Linked DNA regions of Homo sapiens: region 1 is linked to region 2. Evidence: promoter capture Hi-C in 16 types of primary human blood cells and fetal thymus (Javierre and others, 2016). All regions are on one chromosome and are shown on one strand. Each heading gives the region's core, a stretch centred on a gene start or on the middle of the fragment in contact. The rest is flanking DNA. Distances are from core to core; before and after follow the strand shown. Region 1 overlaps NME7 (NME/NM23 family member 7). Region 2 holds the start of DPT (dermatopontin).

Evidence for each region. Contacts are between HindIII fragments. The CHiCAGO score rates a contact against its expected background, and 5 or more counts as called.
Region 1: a contact is called between a fragment that was not itself captured here and the fragment with the promoter of DPT in region 2, in 1 of 17 cell types (M2 macrophages). The highest score is 5.9, in M2 macrophages.

What each region holds. Positions count from the first base shown.
Region 1 is chr1:169,302,849-169,309,297 of GRCh38, reverse strand. NME7 (NME/NM23 family member 7) reads left to right here. Exons shown (of 12, transcript NM_013330.5): 5 at 6,103-6,153. Among named protein-coding and RNA genes, the nearest start is that of NME7, 62 kb to the left of the region's middle. The HindIII fragment of the contact is 5,271 bases long and covers 1-4,322 here.
Region 2 is chr1:168,726,780-168,732,370 of GRCh38, reverse strand. It overlaps DPT (dermatopontin), which reads left to right and starts at 3,165. Exons shown (of 4, transcript NM_001937.5): 1 at 3,165-3,501. The coding sequence starts at 3,197. The HindIII fragment of the contact is 3,243 bases long and covers 561-3,803 here.

The DNA.
Region 1 (6,449 bases), core at 438-2,937, 580 kb before region 2:
TTCTTAAAGATAAGCAAAGTTAGGACAGGGTAGAAATTCAGCTGTCATGTAGGCATTACACCAGGCAACAAAAAGAAAAAGAAGAAAGAAAAGAACAATAAGACACCAAGTAATCAGATGCATAAATAACCACTGAAGTCTAAGTAATTAGGAGTTGTCAAATTATGCATGCCTCATTTAATTATTATTGTCTTTCAAAACCCCATCTGCTTTTATAACACCAGTGCTTGATAATTATAATCATTTCTTAATATATAAGGATAACACACTGTATAAAATTAATAGAGGAAATGATGTCTGATTATTTTTATTTGACAAGAGGATTTACTGTTGAGATTTCCAAAGATGATGCATTTGGAAATGTTTACATTTAGCTCTTCTTATTATAAATAATAGGCAAATATACCTATTTATTTTTTACCTAGATAGGTAAATATACCTATCTAACAAGCAGTACAACCTGTTTGACCAGATATTTTCTAAGTTATTTAGTGAAAATAAGACTTATACATTTACTTATCCCTTTCTATCATGAAGTAAGTAACTCTAACCCCGTAAGAATGGCAAGGAGAATATTAACAACGTACAAACAAAGGATAGGGAAAACCTTCTCTTCAGTTTTTTTTAGAGATCCTTTAGAAAAAAAACTAGTGATTTTTCCATGATATTGGACATTTGTTTTTAAAAAATTTCCTACCAAATGGACAAAGCAAAGACTGAAACATTCTGGAAGATGAAGAAGGGAGATGAGTATAGGACAGAGGCCTTTGTTTCCTGGGATCACCCTCTGGTTGGCTGAGTGTAACACAGAGTGTCTCTAGGGACAGGAATGTAGCAGTTAGGCAGATCTGGCTCCAATAGTGTTCTTATGTTTCTCCACTAGTTTTTGTTTGTTTTTGGTCAGATATCTTCTTAATGCTTCAATAAATCATTCATTTCTGGATTTATTCCATGGGTCAGTTGCATTTTTGTTTCTGTGAGAGCAGGGACAATGGGGAGCAGTAGACATTCAAGTCAGCTTCAATACATCTGATTCCGAGAAACTTTAACACAAAACCCTCCATTTTACCCTGACAATGACATGTTTAATTGGAATTTTTCCCTTATGTATGATCTCCTAGTTTACATATTTTCTAGAGAGACAGGAGGCTTACATTTCAGAGCACAGTATTTAGACCAGATTGCTTGTAACTGTGCTACTTACTAGGTGTGTGACTGAACAGTTGACCACTGTGTTTATTTCTTCATTTGCAAAATGGGATTTTTTTTTTTTTTTTTGAGATGGAGTCTTGCTCTGTTGCCCAGGCTGGAGTGTAGTGGCACGATTTCGGCTCACTGCAACCTCCACCTCCCAGGTTCAAGCAATTCTCCTGCCTTGGCCTCCCAAGTAGCTGGAACTACAGGAGCACACCACCACGCCCGGGTAATTTTTGTATTTTTAGTAGAGACGGAGTTTCGCCATGTTGGCCAAGCTAGTCTTGAACTCCTGACCTCAAATGATTCACCCGCCTCAGCCTCCCAAATTGCTGGGATTACAGGCATGAGCCACCGCGCCTGGCTTAAAATGGGATTTATAATAGTACCTATCTCATAAAGTAGTTGTGAGGGTTACATGAGTTTAGTGTCTCTATACTTCTAGTGTCTGATGACTTGGTATCTAACTTCCTGTGGTAAAGATGCTACTTGTTTATCATAATGGCCCTATAGCACATGAAGAAAAATGCTAAAACCAGCAAACACTTCAAGAGCACCATAGGGCATACATTTGCTAGTTTCTTTGAAACCTTAAGTCTTGTTAATTCCACCCATGCCTTTTGAAATACTTCATTCTTTGGAGTACCACAGATGCAAGCCCTTCTAATTACTTGTTGACACACCTGTTCATTTGTAGTTATGCACTTCCTTTTCCCATAGTCTTCTGAACACAAATCTCTTACCAAACCATTTTCACTGGCCCCTCTGGAAATCAAGTTTCATTGTGAACAAATATCCCTATGTCCATAGTGTCTTAACAGAGTGTATCTTTGCCCGCACATTTTTAGTTTAGTTGAAATCTGACCCTTCTCCAGGGACATTCCTTTCCTTTTAGCCCTGTAGGCTGCTCACTCACAAATGTTTCTTATGTCACAGGGTCACGATATAGCGTATTTTAGCTCTCTCCTAAAAATCTATACTCTTCTTCATCCTTGGAAATTCATGTTATTTAGTTGTTTTACCATCCACTGAGCCTCATTTCCATTCTACAGTTCACAAACTCCACATTTGTTAAAGATTTGGGCACTTTGTTTATAGTCTCCTTCTATTCCAGTGTCTCCTGACAGTTGGGATGACTTCAACATCTCTGTCAGTGATCATCCAGGGCTCTGCTCTATTTGCTTTCCCATCTCAGTGACGGTCACTATGATTTCAATTAGGTATTCCTCCAGATCCTTGCTTTTTGTTTTTTTAAAAAACGTGGTCTCGCTTTGTTGCCCAGGCTAGTCTCGAACTGGCCTCAAGTGAGTCTCCTGCCTTGTACTCCCAAAGTGCTAGAATTACAGGCATGAGCCACTGCATCCAGCTTGTTGTATGTTATTTTCTTTACAACTTTACTTGAGTAGTCCCATGCATGTCCATATGATCACCTACCACTTACTTATAGATGAATTCCAAATACATCTTCAGCCTTGACTTCTCTCTGCAACTGTCAATCTGAAAGTGATCCTAGATTCATCTTGCTGCTCCCCCATTCCTCATACCTACCTGATATATAAATATTTTTACTTCTGCTTTCTGTATATCTCTGGGAGCAATTCTCTCCTTATAATTCCTATTGCAGCCCCTTAGTTTAGGCATTTTATAGGCTCATATTCAGGCTTTCAACGTATCAACATAGGCTACTGACTGATTTGTCTACTTCTTGACTTACTACCTTCTATTCCTTGATGGCTCATTTCCTACCTCAAGATTGCTCCATGCCATTTTCTTATTGCCATTAGAATGAACCTCATAAAATGAAAATTTGAACATGTTACCATTCCCTTCCTTAAATCCGTCAGTGGTTTCCCATATGCAGGAAAATATGGTCAAGCAGACAAGCTCTTTGATAGAGTATACAAGACTCTTAGTCATCTGTACTCACCTACTGTAATAGCTCTAAGAGGATACTTAGGTTTCAGTTCCCTGAACATGTTGTGCTTTATCACATCTCAGTTTTCTTGTACATAATATTGTACTGTCTTGAATGCTCTGCCTTGTCTTCTGTCTCATCCATTCCTATTCATCGTTCAGAACCAACTCAAATGTCTCATGGAAACTAATTCCCAAGAAAACTTAACTGCTTATCTAATCATTCATATCACTTCATATATTTTTATTAGTATGTTGAGCTTGAGATTTCATCCAATTTATAAGCTAGGAAGTTACCTGTAACTCTTCCATGGATGTTAGCAGATGACATGAGACTTCTGGGTCAGAGACAAAAGACTTTATAATGGTAGAGCAAGCAGCATGAGCATTGTGTTTATATTGGTTCTCCTTGCCTCCATATCCTACAGGAATAAAATGACCAATGCCCAGGTGTATACTGTGTATCTAGAGGGTGGCATCACAACTGAGGAGGAGTGAGCTTGGGTTACCAGCTGTTCCATTAGCAAGCAATAAACAAGCCTACTCTTTATACTGAAGAGAGGCTTTACCTTATCCCTCAAGGTTTCTTGTTGCAAACACAATCCTGAGAAACGACACCGATGAAGATCAGTCAGGTCCTTGCATTCTTGGCATACCCGATAAGACAAGTTAGAAGAGAGAAACTCACCTGGAGGAATTTCTCACAATGTATGCATCTTTTCTAAAATTGTTTGTTCAAATGTCGGTTCCGCCATGATGACAATATCCAGAAGATAGCTGCTGAGTTCTGTATGACTTTGTATTTCTAGTTCTTGGATCAGTGCCTCAATCAAGGTTGGCATTAAGTAAATATTTCTTGAAAGGGTTAATGGATAGATCTTTGTGAAAGAATGGTTAGTTTCTTCATAAAAACACAACAAAACATAACAAAACAACAAAAAACTTCTCTAGATAGTGATTCACTTGTTAATACCTATTTCCTTCTAAACCTTTAAAGCAAAGAATTAGATAAGAATGATGGGAAAAAATTTATGAACTCTCATCGTGGTTTCAATTTTAGATTTTGAATGGAGATAACTATGGAATCAGGGACATGTTGGATGAAAACAATGAAACATTTTTAGTAATGGATTGAGGTTTTTCTTTTCAATGACGTTAAAGATTATGATTGCTTTTTCCTTTCTTGTAGTTCAGTTTTTTGCGTTTGAAAAGCTTAGAATTGGTTGTTTTAGTATTCTTCTGCTAACTCTTCTAATTTACTCTCCATGTAAGTTTTTCAGTTATTCAGTTTTACCCCATTTTAGGCTGTAATGCAGTATATACGTATCTCTTTTTTTGTGAGTTTTTCTCTTTACCCTCTAGAATGTTGTTCTACAGTTAGTAGTAGCAAGAGCATAAGCAGTCAGAAATTTGCAATCAGAGAGCTTTGGGTTCAAATCTTCTTGTCTTGTCCTTACTAGCTTTGTGAACTGGACAACTTATGTAACCATGCTGAACTTTATTCTTTTCCGATGTAAAATAAAGGTGATCACACCTATTTCAATATATTGTTGTAAGGAATAAATATAATAATTTAATCATGGCTATAATTGGCTCTAGAAAATTTTGATTTTTTTCTCCTTTCCATGTCTCGGGATGAATTTTATTCTCTATATTGGCATTACATATTTCATAATCTCTTCATAGCCAAATGAATGTTTAAGTACATTTGGTTAGAATGAGAGTATGCGTGATATAACTTGTTATGTAAATTCATTTTGTAATATCCTGATAAAATCTTAAAAGCATTGCATATCAAATGAATTCTCAAGCCTGAAAGGTTGATTCTTTGCTAGGGAACAGTTTCCAGTTTTAAAAGTAGTTAATGTTTACATATATTTGTCACATACTGTGAACCCAGTTCAAAGCCTTTAAGAAAACTACACAGTGTTAGGAGAGTCATCTGGTTTGCTTTTAAAAAAAGTTTTTTAGACTTTTTAGCTAATCAGTTTAAAATGCATTCTTTTATTGCCGCTGTAGATATTCTTTAGTGGTAATATAAATGTAAAAATAAATCCCTGTTACAATTAATAAACTCTGAATTCTAAATGTTTCCATATTCTCCCCTTTTTTAGTGATGTCAGTTAAAGCATTAGTAACCAATAAAATAAAAACATATTAAGATACATAATTTCTCAGGCAGCTTTTAAAAACACGACTGTAGTCTTTCCTTTGGAGAGACCTAGCTAAGAAAAAAAGCTATAAACATTAAATTAAAATTCTAGCCTAAGCTCTTAAGTTTAAAGCCTGTGGAAAAAAATGACAAATTTTTAATTAGAAGATGGCTTTGCATTTTTTTGATGCAACTTATTTAGACTTTAAAGAACAAATATTCTCACTGGTCAAATATTAACCTTTGTTTCTAGAACGTTCAGGATGCTGTGTAAAAAGATGGATAAGGCCAGGTGCGGTGGCTCATGCCTGTAATCCCAGCACTTTGAGAGGCCGAGGTGGGTGGATCACCTGAGGTCAGGAGTTTGAGACCAGCCTGGCCAGCATGGTGAAACCCCATCTCTAGTAAAAGTACAAAAATTAGCTGGGCATTGTGGCACACGCCTGTAATTCCAGCGACTTGGGAGGCTAAAACAGGAGAACTGCTTGAACCCAGGAGGTGGAGGTTGTAGCGAGCGCCAAGATCGTGCCACTGCACTCTGGCCTGGGTAACTCAATCTAAAAAAAAAAAAAAAAAAAAAAAGAAGAAGATAGACAATATATAACATAAGTAGAAAAGTAAACATTGCCTCCTACATTAATTTTTATTTACATTGATATTACTCATACTTAAAAAATATTTTAAAAGAGTGGCTTTGACAGAATATTTGGTGAAAAATTATTAATTAAAATATAAATTAGTATAAATTGAGAGGATTTTATCTTAATTTTATTAATGTAAGCTAAAATAATAAGTGTTTAATTTTATAATTCTTAACTATTGCCTTTTTGATTATTTTATAGGAAAGAAGCATTGGATTTTCATGTAGATCACCAGTCAAGACCCTTTTTCAAGTAGGTCCTTAATTTGGGGATTAGTGGTATGTAAAGGAGGATATCCTAGAAAACTATGGAGTTACATTTGTAAAATTTATTACTTGAGAATAATCTGTCAAAAGGGCCATAGCAACATCTTGCAACTGCACAGAATTCTAAGAATTATATTCTCTGTCTTTTTATTAAGTAAGAATTCCTATATTTTATCATTAAAAATCTTAAAGTTTAATCAGTTGCAAATAGAAAGATTTGTTTACATTACAAGAAGGATAACTTTTAAAATTTTTGGTTGATTAAAAATGGAGTGATAATTA
Region 2 (5,591 bases), core at 1,916-4,415:
TCTGCGTATGGAAATCATTCTCTATGCGGCCACCAGAATCTCTCTCAAAGGCATCAGCAGTTTCTGGAATCTCCTGAGACACTGGATGAGTTAGGTTGCTTTCAGCTTTAAGTAACAGAAATCTATATTAAAACTGGACCATAGCATGAAGATATTTATTTTTGCACATTAAAGGGAATCCAGCTGAGGTAGTTCTAGCTGTAGTTGAAAGAAATCTGCGGAGAGTGGAGATCAGGCAGAGGCCCTGGAAATTGTTGGAAAACAAATGTATAATAAAGATGAGTGTTTATGATAATCTGCTTTGTCTCTTAGAGCTCTTTAAGGTTTAAAATAGCTCATATCATGTCCAGAATGCAAGATACAACTCATGAGCATCAGGATGATAAACTGAAAAAATTAAAAAAAAAAAAAAACCCTCTAGCATAGAGGTTCTCAACCCTGGCTTCCGGTGAGAAGCCTATAGGGAAGGTTTCAAAGGACGTCATTGTCAGGACCCTGCTCAGAAGCTTCTGATCTGATTGGTCCAGAAATTGCTTAGACTCTGGAGGTTTCCAAAAGCTTTCCAGGTAATCCTTAAATGCTGATAAGGTGGAGAATGATTGCTTCAGCATATCATGAATCAGAGAGATCCTTCTAAGCTAGGAAGAATTCCGATGCCAGCACTGGGCAGTTACTTACGGATGGAAGTGGTGGGAGAAGATGGTGCTAAAAACAAAACTAAGCCTCACATAGCTGTTCAGCCCAGATCCTCTCCCCCTCGCTTCAGTAACCATGATCATCAAAGAAAACTGCATGCCCAACACACACACAAACACACACACACACACACACACACACGAGTTACTTGTTGCTTTATTCTCATGTATGACTGTCTTTCCCTTTCAAGACTATCTTGGTGTTTGATCTAGACTGAATACCGTCTGGTAAATGTGCCACAGGCTAGGCAGATGGTGGGATTAATAGTGTGATTTTTCTCTGGCTCCACATTCCTTTAGGAAGGTGACTCTTAGCAATTGATGTGAATAAGAATCACCTGGAAAATTTTTTAAAATATAAATACCTGAGCACCCCTTGTGAGGTTATGATTTAGCAGGCCTGGAGAAGAGCCACTGTCTACATTTTAACAAACTTCACAGAGGCTGTAGATAGAATTGGTCTATGATCACAATTCTAAGAAACTTTAAGAACAATACTGATGAGAAATGGGAAATACTATGTGCTTAAGAGATGCCCAAAGGTTTCAAAAAATTTGAAAAGCCAAATCATCAACGGATGCATGGAATGGGTAATGAGCACATGAAAAGATGCTCAAAATCATGGATCATTAGAGAAATGAAAATCACAACCACACTGAAATATCACTACAAACCTATTTGAATAGCTAAAATTTTTTAATGGCAATTTTCTGGTAGTGGTGGGCAATGGTATCACCACTTTGGAAATCAGCTAGGTAGTTTCTTGCTTTCTTTTTTTTGTTTTTTTGAGACGGAGTCTCGCTCTGTAGCCCAGGCTGGAGTGCAGTGGCACAATCTCGGCTCACTGCAAGCTCCGCTTCTCGGGTTCACGCCATTCTCCTGTCTCAGCCTCCCGAGTAGCTGGGACTACAGGCGCCCGCCACTAAGCCTGGCTAATTTTTTGTATTTTTAGTAGAGGCGGGGTTTCACCATGTTAGCCAGGATGGTCTCGATCTCCTGACCTCGTGATCCGCCCGCCTCGGCCTCCTAAAGTGCTGGGATTACAAGCATGAGCCACCACACCCGGCCTCAGTAGTTTCTTTTAAAGTTAAACATACATTACCTTGTGAACCAGCAATCTCACTCCTAGGTATTGACCCAAATGAAATAAAAATTTGTTCACACAAAAACCTATACATAGATGTTTATATCAACTTTATAATTACATTTATGTAATTCATTATATAAAATATAATGAATATAAAATTCATTACATAAAAAGTAATGAATTTTCAAAAACTGGAAACAACCCAAATGTCTTTCAACTAGTAAATGTATAAACAATCTGTGGTACATCCATGCTATGGAATATTACTCAACAATAACAAGAAACAAAATACTAACACATACAATGAGATGTTGAATTTTAAAATGGATGAACCTTAAAAGCATTATGCTAAGTGAAAGATGGACATGAAAGGCTACGTGTGGTATGATTCCATTTACTTGACATTCTGGAAAAGGCAAAACCATAGAGACAGAAAGTAAATCAGTGGTTACCAATGGCTGGGTGTTTGGGAAGATTTGACTGCAAAGGGATATAAGGGGATGTTTTGGATTGATGGAACTGTTCTAAGTCTTGATTAGGGTGCTGGCTATGTTACTGTACATTATGTATTTTAAAAGGTGAATTAATTATATGTAAATTATAACTCAATGAAAAGAAAATTCAATGTGAGGGCAAAAATACTGAAGGATAAATAGGGGGTTTATTTAGATTAAACCCATTACATTTTGAGAGCAGAGCACACTTTCTAGACTTGACTGGGTCCAATTTCAGCAGCATGGTAGAATGCTTAAGTGTAGAAATCATATCCAACTTATCTCCCCATGGGCCCATAGTACTTCCTTATGCAACTTATGAGTTCTCAGAGTAGCCCTGCAAACTGGTATACCCGCGCTTATACTCAAGGGTTAAAAAGTGTTGGATTGACAACTTAAAAAAAAAAACAGGCATTCAGCCTTACAGAAATCCTAGATGGCTCTGTTACTTCAGTCTATGATTTCGGTATTTTGAAATCACTGTCTGGGTATTTGTGTGGCCCGGAAGGCTAGTTTGGAGAACAAATACAGGGGTTTGCTAGTAGCGGGTAGGGTAGGACAGAAAGGGGTGAGGTGCTGAAAGGTGAGGGACAAATATGCTACTAATCAGTGTTTTTCAAGTGAATATTTCTACAGGGTAGAGCAGCAGTTGGCTTTTATAATCTAGATACAAAGTTGTTCTTTCTCCAGGGAGCTTCTTAGACTTACATGCTGCTGGTATATTCCTAGAATTCCACCTTAAAACAAGCTGAATGTCCTTATGGCTGACATCTCAGCATGGAAAAGTTTTGCTTAAGCAATGACACACTGCAGTTGGATCCTTCTCACCCACATCTGGAAGCCACATGTCAGCGGCAGCTATATAAAACGGTCAGACCAGCAATCTTAGAGTGACATTGTTTGCCAAAATCCCAGGCAGCATGGACCTCAGTCTTCTCTGGGTACTTCTGCCCCTAGTCACCATGGCCTGGGGCCAGTATGGCGATTATGGATACCCATACCAGCAGTATCATGACTACAGCGATGATGGGTGGGTGAATTTGAACCGGCAAGGCTTCAGCTACCAGTGTCCCCAGGGGCAGGTGATAGTGGCCGTGAGGAGCATCTTCAGCAAGAAGGAAGGTTCTGACAGACAATGGAACTACGCCTGCATGCCCACGCCACAGAGCCTCGGGGAACCCACGGAGTGCTGGTGGGAGGAGATCAACAGGGCTGGCATGGAATGGTAAGGGCCAGTCCCTGCACTGCACTGGGGCTGGGAACATCTCTGCATATCCCTCCTCCTGGGGGCTGCTAGACTCTCAAGGAATATCAGTAACCAAAGCCTGGGCAAATCCCACCCCAAACCTCACCACTGCATGCTCTGGGTGGAGCAGGGCTGCTGCTGAGCGGACTACATGACAGGACAAAAACCTGGGATGGGGAGTGTCTGTGGGAGACAGACTCCTCTGTGGCTCTGTTCCTTCCAGAAGCTGTTCTACCTACTCTCAGTTTGGGCCAGGGGCTGGTGTAGGTCGGCGAGAAGCTTGCTTACCAGACTACCAAAAGATATGTACAGAAACTGAAAGTAATAAACTTTATAGAAATTAAAACTTTCTGTGCCATCGGAATGGCATTTTTCTTTTTTAGAAATTTATTTTTACCATTTTACAAAAGTACTGGCCCACAGTAGTTTGGGAACAAGAAAAATAAACAATTGATCTCTCAGCACGGAGGGTTTGAGAACTATTGATTTAGAGCAAGTGAATGGAAAAGAGGGGACAAGGACATTTAGGCAAAAGAAAGTGGAATTAAATAGCTGTCTACTGCCTTGATTAAATGTGCTCTCTCAATTATGAGTACTGAGGTCCTTCTCTCTGCCTGAATTTAAAGTGGGTTTTATTGCTGGAAAATAGTTTACTAAAGGGTTTTGGAGAGAGGTGCTGTCTTCCCCTGACTGCATTCTGCCTTAAGCAGTGGCATGGAATTTTTTCGAGCTTGTACTTTTTTGTGGGGTGTGATTGTCTCAGCTGGGTCTCAGCCCAGGTGCTTGGTCAGGAGCTCATCCTAGTAGGCACTGACTGCTAGGCTGATTATTTACAACAGCCTAGATGGAGCCAGCACTCTAGGAGGCTTGGAGGAGAGAACGGAGGAGGCAGTCCAGGGAGGAGGAAGCCCACCTGGAGGGCTGCTGCATGTGCTATCTGTAGAGCAACCCAGATGTGTGGCAACAAGTACTTAGTGTAGTGGGGATTGGAGGGGTCAAGCACAAAATCTGGCCAGGTGTGGTGGCTCACGCCTGTAATCCCAAACACTTTGGGAGGCTGGGGAGGGAGGATCACTTGAGATCAAGAGTTCGAGACCAGCCTAGGGAACACAGCCAGACCCTATCTCTACAGAAAAAAAAAAATTAGCCCGGTGTAGTTGCATGCAGCCTGTGGTCCCAGCTACTCAGGAGGCTAAGGTAGGAGGATCACTTGAGCCCAGGGAGTCGAGGCTGCAGTGAGCCATGCTCGCACCACTGTATTCCCTCCTGGGTGGCAGAGCAAGACTCTGCCTCAAAAAAAAAAAAAAAAGAAAATAGAAAAAAGAAAAAGCATAGAACCCTGGGGGACACAACCAGTAGAGAGGTGATGATGGGAAATCCAAGAGGAAGAAACACCGATGGGTGGGGGAGCCAGGAAAGAGAGCGGGCCTTTAAGTAATGACAACAGCTACCATTTATTGAGTGCTTACCCTGAGCAGGCTCCATGCTAAGTGCTTTATGTGGATCATCTCGTGTAATGCTCAAAACAAGGGTATATCCCATTTATAGGTAGACAAACTGCAGTCTAGAGATCCAGTATTTCCTCGGCTAGAAAGCTGGGGTTTGGATCCACAGAGTCTTTGCTTCAAAGAGTTTGTACTTTGCCACAGTGACGGGCTCCTGAGAGGCTGCTGCCTCCACCCAGAGTGGGCTCCCACCCGACAGCTGACTCTGTCAGCAGAGCCAGTGCCACAGGACCAGATTCAGGGCAGTTCTTCCTCCTGGAGAGGGTGGGGACCTGCAAGACCACAGCAGAAGCCCAGCCCCAGAGGGATGATCCCTACTTGGTTACCAGGACTGTGGAGGGGCTCAGCCGGACTGTAGAAGGGGTGGGGAGAGGACTCACACAGGCAGCAGCAGGTGAGGGTGCCGGGGCTGTGGAGGCTGCTTGGACAGCCTTTGTGGGCCATTCTCATCCACCCCCATGGCCTCTGGTGAGCAGATTTAGTTATTCAAAACCCCTTCTGACAGATGCTGATTCAGAGACCAGGCTCACCTTGATTGTTGTCTCCATGACTCCTCACAGCCAG